Regions from separate parts of the Homo sapiens genome. Here region 2 is linked to region 1. The links are contacts of gene promoters, found by promoter capture Hi-C in blood cells and fetal thymus (Javierre and others, 2016). All regions are on one chromosome and are shown on one strand. Each heading gives the region's core, a stretch centred on a gene start or on the middle of the fragment in contact. The rest is flanking DNA. Distances are from core to core; before and after follow the strand shown. Region 1 holds the start of C8orf90 (chromosome 8 open reading frame 90). Region 2 has its middle 23 kb from the start of ADGRB1.

Evidence for each region. The method cuts DNA at HindIII sites, captures the fragments that hold promoters and counts their contacts. A CHiCAGO score of 5 or more calls a contact.
Region 2: a contact is called between a fragment that was not itself captured here and the fragment with the promoter of C8orf90 in region 1, in 1 of 17 cell types (M0 macrophages). The highest score is 5.0, in M0 macrophages.

The regions. Positions count from the first base shown.
Region 1 is chr8:141,512,902-141,516,554 of GRCh38, reverse strand. It overlaps C8orf90 (chromosome 8 open reading frame 90), which reads right to left and starts at 1,884. Exons shown (of 2, transcript NM_001395960.1): 1 at 1,780-1,884. The coding sequence starts at 1,858. LOC105375791 (a long non-coding RNA gene) reads left to right here and starts at 2,340. Exons shown (of 3, transcript XR_928727.1): 1 at 2,340-2,399; 2 at 2,647-2,697; 3 at 3,006-3,653. RefSeq lists a silencer at 1,992-2,286. The HindIII fragment of the contact is 11,475 bases long and covers 1-3,653 here.
Region 2 is chr8:142,424,695-142,428,347 of GRCh38, reverse strand. No RefSeq gene overlaps it. Among named protein-coding and RNA genes, the nearest start is that of ADGRB1, 23 kb to the left of the region's middle. RefSeq lists an enhancer at 409-1,183. The HindIII fragment of the contact is 5,778 bases long and covers 1-3,653 here.

The DNA.
Region 1 (3,653 bases), core at 635-3,134:
GCACCAAGAGGGAGCGGGCAGTGATGGGAGCGTGGGAAGTGTGGCAGCAGGGACCTGAGCCGTGTGCTGCCGGCGCATCACATCAAATGAGTCCAAGTGACCTCGGACTTACCAGCGCAGAGGTCATTGATGACTTTTGCTAGAGCTGCTTTAGTGAAGCACTGGAAATTAAAACCCGGTGAGAGTGGGTTCAAGAGCAAAGGAGAGGGGAGAACGTGGAGGCAGCAAAGACAAATGACCTTCCTGAGGTTCGGCTCTGAATGTGGAGCAGAGAAGTAGGGCAGGAGACGGAAGGGAAGTGGGGTCAAGAGACAGGATAAATCGCAGCATGCTTTCATGCCAGTGGGAACGACCTGGGAAAGAGCGGTATCATGATGCAGGAGAAAGAGGGTGAAGAGTTGCTGGAGTGACAGCGTGAGTTGGGGGATGGAATGGGAGAAGCTGAATGCTGCCTTTGGCTGGGAGGAGGGATGGGGCATTCACAGGAGCAGGCCGGGGTGGACAGCGCCCAATGCCACAAGTACAGTGGGTGGGCACCAGCAAAGTCCTCTTCCAATGCCTTCAGCTTCTCAGGGAAGGAGGGTGCAAGGCCAGCAGCACAGTGTGAGGAGAGAGACGATGGGGGCTTAGAGGGAGAGAAGGTGCGAGGTGGTTGCTAGGTGAGGAGAGGCTGGGCAGACCAGGGAGGGCAGCGGAGCCGGCCTCCTTGCTGCTGAAGCCAAGTGCAGGCATTAGCAAGGTGGAGTTCACTCAGCTGCAGCCCACTGCAAGGGCACAGGCAAGGGTAGCAGGGAGTTGGAGCTGCCAGACTAGTACAAGAAAACAGGAGAGGGGCCAGCGAGGGGGCAGAGGCCATGGCAAAGATGTGAGGAGGGGTGGAGGAGGCCAGACAGGTGGAAGACACTGTGGGCTTCCACCTCACTAAAGGAGTGCTGGGGCTGGCCCTCGAGGGCAGGAGCTGGGGCAAGAATCCCCAGAGTGCGGTGGGGACAAGGGGACTGCAGTTTGGGTACAGTTTGTCGGGTGGGTGGCTGGGTGAGAGGACAAAATCCTTACAGGAGTCCGAGGGGCTGAGAGAAATCACCAATAGGATGACAGGAGAGCTAGGGAGAGGGCAGGGCAGGGGCCAGGGTCTTTAGGAGTGAAGGCATTGACCATGAGCAGGGTGCACGGATGGGTGGGCAGATGAGTGGGTGGAGGAGTGGGTGGATGGGTGGATGGATGGATGGATGGATGGATGGATGGATGGATGGATGGATGGATGGATGGATGGATGGATGGATGGATGGATGGATGGATGGATGCATGGATGGTTGGGTGGATGGATGGATGGGTGGGTGGGTGAATGGGTGGGTGGATGGGTGGATAGATGGGTGAGTGAATGGATGGCTGGCTGCCCCTCCCACTGCCTCTGAGATCCAGAGCTGAGTTTTAGAAGAGGCAAGGGCAGGAGAATGATCCGGAAGGGGCCCTAAAGAGTGAGAAGGACCCTGCACACCTCCAGGTCCATAGATCCAAAGGCTTCAGGAAGAGAGCCAACCCCTTCCCTGGGGACTTCAGAGCATCAGAGCATTGGGGAGCGTAGGGAGGAGAAGGACCTTTACAGGGAGGCTTTGATGCCCGCATGCCCCCATCCTGGCCCAGCCCCACTGCCACTCTCCTTCATGACCTTGGCAGAGCATCTTCTTCTGGAAGATGGGTCAGAGGGCCGCTTCCTGCTCCCACATTCTCAGAGCCCCAGGTGCCCCGTCCCCCTTCCCGTCCATTCCCCTCCCTCACCAAGTGTCTCGCCTGGAGTGGCTACAGAAGGAGGGGGCAGACCTGCTGGGCTGGGGGTCCCAGGACAAGAGGAGGCCATGCCAGCAGCCCGGGAGACAGGCTTCTGTTTACTAGGCTGCCCAGGAGACGGGGAGGGGCCTCCCAGGGGAGGACAGAACCTTGCGTTTAAAGGGCCTCCACTCAGGAGTGGGCTGGGGCTGTGGGGGAGGCTGAGTGGGGACCTGTGGGCTCAGTGGCCTCTTGCGCACTAAACTCTCTGTGGGCATCACTGCAGCCCCTCACCCAGCACCCTGCCCCTCGCCTGGACCCTGCAGGGCCACCCTCTGGGCCAGCCTCCCATCCTTAACCCTTCCCATTGCACCCAGCAACCCTCCGAGATCAATCCCCAGTCACATCTGCTCACCTGCCCTGCTCAGAGACCATGAGAACCTGGCACCCAGAGACCGCCAGCCTGTCCCCACCAGCACTCTTCCTCCTGACTCACCTCGGGTCAGCCTGGTGTCCACAGCCGCAGCCTGTGAGTGCTCTCAGGGCAGCCGAGGCCTTGATCCAGCCTCAGCTGGCCTGTCCCTCCAGACCACGGGGCTCCCACAGGCATTCCCGAAGTCTTCAGAGCCCAGGTCAGCAGTCCCCATCTTCAGCAACTCCAGTAGTCCCTATGAAGCAGGTCAGACCTTGCCTCAGCCACAAAGAGCTCATGGGGATATCAGTTCCCCCAAAGTGGGATCAAGTGCTGGTAGGGGTGGGGACATGAGACAGAGAAGGGAACAAAGCCTGGGAAGACGCATCCCAGCACAGTTTTACCGGAGATGGCCTCAGAGCTACCCCGCCTGCCCAAACAGCCGTGGGCTGCTGTATCCCCAGCAGGTGTGGCTTGTAAGGAGCCTGGCAGCCAGAGATGGCCTCAGGGAAAGAAAGGTAAGTGCTCCCAGGGGCCTGAGCTGGGGCCTGGCTCTTCACAAGGAGAACCCCAGCCACAGACTGGGATGTGATTGAGCAGTCAATGCCCCTGGTGTTTGAGTGTCACTCATGCCAGGCTCTCTGTTACCACAGCCTCTAATACAGCAGGGCTGTGACGCAGGACAGGACGGGGCTTGACTGGGGAGCAGGGGCCCCTCCCCTCTCCTGGTCTCTGTATTTTTGCACCTCCACATCTCTGTGCAGTTGCCTTGAGAGGGTGCCCTTCCCACTCTCCTCTGCAATGCAAACTCATGCTCCCCCTTCAGGTTCTGGCTCATATCACCTCCTTCAGGAAGCCCACCTGGCCTGCTCTGTACCTGAGAGCCTCCCAGGCCTGGCTGGCACCCCATCAGAAGTCATCTGTTTGGATATGGTCCCTCCATTGCCTTCCATGGGCTCCCATGTGTCCTGGTGATGACCTCAGGCTGCACATGGTCCCATGTCCAGGGCCCTGCCCCTCGGGGCCACACCCTCTGAGCAGCCCAGGCTCCAGCTCCCTCCGCTGAGATTCCTAGGTCAGTGCCAGCCTCAGACTTAGGAAGGTGGGCATGCGGGAGGCAGGGAAGGCCAGGGTTGTCATGGCAAAACCCTGTACCCATTCTGTCTTCCCACCCCCCTGAGAACCCCTCAGGACAGGCCTGGGCCATATCCTCTGGGCCAGACTTAAAGAAAGGCCTGCTCAGCCCCAGCAGGTGAGCTGGAACCCTTCTCCCCAGACAAGCCACACTCCATGCCCTCCCCCACCTCCAGCAAGGCTGGGGTGCAGCCCAGGAGACCCAGCAGAGGCTGAAGCCCAGCCCTCCAGGCACCTGTAGGCAGGAGCACACCCAGCTCTCGGACCTCAGAATCAGCCGTGGTGAGTGTGGTCCTGTATTCACATGGCCAGCATGTGTTTTCCACCTTCCTGTGCTCCG
Region 2 (3,653 bases), core at 628-3,127, 910 kb before region 1:
TGCAGAGCCCGCTCAGCCCTGGGTGGCTGGGCCCACATGGGCTGTGCCCCAGGAGCACAGGAGGACCCAGAGGGTGGCCGAGGGAGCCTCGCCGGGCTCCGGTATGGGTCCTGGCCCCTCACAGGTGCGAGCCTGGCCCAGTGACTGTGGACGCTGTGGGAGAGCAGGCCTCCGATACGCAGGGCTGGGACTGCTGACCTGGAAGGTGGTGCCGGGCGTGTCTGGTGAAGGCGCCGTTGGCAGCTAGAGAGAGACGGCGGATGGGGTGACGCCATTACCCACGGTCCCAGTTTTGAGGCTTGACGGTGACGGAAAAGGACGTCGGTGCTGGCCACGGCTGCTGTGGAGGTGGTGCTGAAGCTGATGGGGGTGGCACGAGGTTTGTCAGGAGGACAGTGAAGACGCTGTGCCGATGGAGTGTGCCCAGAAAGACGGCGAGGGGGCCGTCAGGAGGGGCAGCCCTGGTGCTGGTGTTGGCAGGTGACGAGAATCACAGAGGTGCCGTGGAGAAAGGGAGCGAGGATCTTCCCCGAGGCAGGGCGGGCTCCAATCCCAGCTCCAACCCTGAAAAGCCCTGGGCCAGTCCCCACAGTCAAGCCCTGGGCCAGTCCCCACAGTCACGGTCACGCGCGTACAGCCAGAATATCCCACGTGGGAAGAACCGAGGGCCTGGGGGTGGGAGGGAAAGCAGGCTCCGTGCTGAGGCAGGCTGGCAGTGACGCAGGTGGAGGTGGCTGAGAGAGGACAGACGACGCAGGTAATGACGGAGGAGGCGTCCCTCCACAGGGCCAGGCTCGCCATGGGCCTGGGCAGAAGGCACTGTTGGATCCAGCCGCTAACATGGGTAGGTCCACAGCTCAGAGCCCAGATCCTTGGCCAGGATCTGTGGGGGCCCAGGGCATGCCACCAAGGCTATGATGAGGATGTACTCGTACACACACAGACTCTGTGTGTGTAAGGAACGCAATCTCAGCACACGCCCACGTGCACGCCCTCCAGTGCCACATCCCAGCCTGCACTCCCTGCAGTGTCTGGAGTGTGTCAGGCAGGCGATGTGGGTCACGAACGGGCTTGTGTAACTCATTGTAACTCATCCCCCCGGGCTGACCTCCGTAGTACCAGAGGTCGCTGGTGACTTGCTGGCCCCAGATTTAGAGGGTGTGAAGAACAGCAGCTCCCCAAATCCTGAAGAGGTGGAGAAGGTTGTTTTCCCAAAAATAAAAGGAATAAAAGACACAGGCTGTCTCCTGCCCCATCCCTGTCCCTGGCCTGGAGGAATGGAGGCCACATGGGCGGAGGCCGGTGAGCCGTGCTTGGAACTTGCTGATCTGAGACATTCCACACCTTCCCTCCCTTCAGCCACCACGTGCCCCCAAGCATGGTACCTCACCAGCACCAACGGCAGCGAGGGTCTGCACCAGGTTGGTTGGCACAGACATTGGGATTGTGGGACAAAGGAAATCTGGGAGAGGAGGGGGCTTGGCTCTCTGAGACTCCCGTGAAACTGAGGTCCCGCTGGGCCCCAGGGAGGAGCCCCCTGCTCTCTCCCAGAGCAGAGATCTGGAGCTTGCCAACCACCTCCCCAGCACTCCCCTGGGCTTCAGCCACACCAGCCCCTCTACCCGCCTACCCACCAACCCCAGCTCTGAAGCCTGACCACCTGAGGATGTGCAAATCTCCCTGCCTACTGAAGTCTTTAGTCTTTGGTTGGGAATCCAGGTAGGGGTGAAAAGGGGAGGCCCATCCTGCAGAGGGGGAAGGGTGTGGTGCTGGGTTGGCCTGGGGACTGGTTCAAGTCCTGCACAGCCTGAGGCATGGGGGACCCAGAGCTGGATTCCTGACCTCTGCCCCCAGCCATAGCTAAACCCAAGGCTGGCGGGGGCCTGGCAAGCTCTGCTACGGATGGCCGAGGAGGGCATGGCCCTCTCTTGTGGTGTCAGCTGGTCTCCCTCAGGTCTGGCTGGACCCTGGCTCACCCCACGCCCCTTGCACTTCTGCCTCCACTAAATCTGTATGGAGAGTAGGGCATATTGGCGTGTGCCTGTATGCACACCCTCATGTGTATATGTGTGCACCACGTGTATACATGGGTGGGTACATGCATGTGCACACATGTTCAAGTGTACACGTGCAGCTTTGCGCATGCTCCTCGTGTGTGTAGGAGCATACAACATGCAGACACTCTGCGTACATGTGTGCACCCACTTGTATATACAGAATGCATATGCAAGTGCACACGTGTGTGTGCGTGGACATGATATGAGCATAAGGGCACGTGCACATGTACACCACACGCACATGGTGTACACATGGGTGTACAGGGCATGTGAATACACACATGGGGTGCAGGCATGTGCACCGGCATGTAAACACAGAGGTGCACACAGAGCCCATGTGTATATGCAAGTGCACATGTTTGTGTATCCTGTGTGCATGTGGTCAGAGGAAGGCAGCCCTGGGAAAGCTGGGAGGTGCGGTAACTAAATCTGAAGGGTACAGAGAGGCCATGCCATGCTTTCCACAGTTCCAGGGAAGGTGTGAGGTGCTCCCTGAGAATTTTAAATTGGGCCAAATGGAGCCTGGCAAAGGGCCCTGGGGTTGGGACCCAGGGGCTGCCAGGTTATCAGTCCAGGGGGTACCAGCTCTCCTCCTGGTCTGAGGACCTGTCCCCCATGCCCTCACCCACAGTATGGAGCACCCTTCCCTCCTTTCTCCCAGTGGGGCTCCTCCTCTAGGAAGTCTGCCTGGGTTCCCCAGGCTCACAGGCCAGCTGAAACACATGACTCTCCCACTGTATGTGTTGGGAAGTTTTCAGTGGCCTGTAACAGAAAACCCATAACAGAAAACCCAACTCAAGCTGGCTGAAACCACATGCAAGCAGATGGTGGATGGTGGATTAGCCTAAGCAAATGGAAAACCTGATGCTGTTGCGGGTTTTGGATGAAGCGTGATGGGGCCGCAGCTCTGCTCCTCTGACTCTCCATACTTTGCTTCTTTCCGACGTGTTGACTTGGCCTTCACGATGGCTCACTCCACGGAGCAGGATGACGTCAGCGTCTCTGGCCCTCAACTGCATCCCACACTGTTCCTCCTCATCTCTGTCTTATACCTCATGGTCCAAGGTGACTGCTGGAGCTCCAGCTGTCACACTCACCTTCTGTCCATCAGGAAGGAGCAGAGGAGAAGAGCGGCCTACACTGCTCTTTAAGGGTACTTCCTGGAGGTTGCACACATCACTTCCTATGCATCCCATCGGTCAGAAATTAGTCAGGCTGTGAAGTGAAGTCTTTATTCTGGCAACTACTCACCCAGCTTAAGACCCAGGATTCTATTCCCCAGGGGCCACTGGCAGCTCATGCTACAGATGCCACCTCCTAGGAATGTTTGGACTATTAGAGGCCAGATCACCCAGCACAGGGCCCACCCTTGGTGGTCAGCGTTTCCCATGGCTGCCTCCTGGGGGCCGTGGACTCTGAGATGACCCATACACTGTCCTACTCACAGTCAACCCACCGTCTGGTCGGGGGAGACAAACCTCGGACCCAGGGCAGGGGGTGGCCGCAGAGATGGAGAAATGCAGAGGGAGCTGTGGGATCCCTTCTTCAGATACTCCGGGCAGGAAGGAGGCAGGGCAGGCCAGGACAGGGAAGACC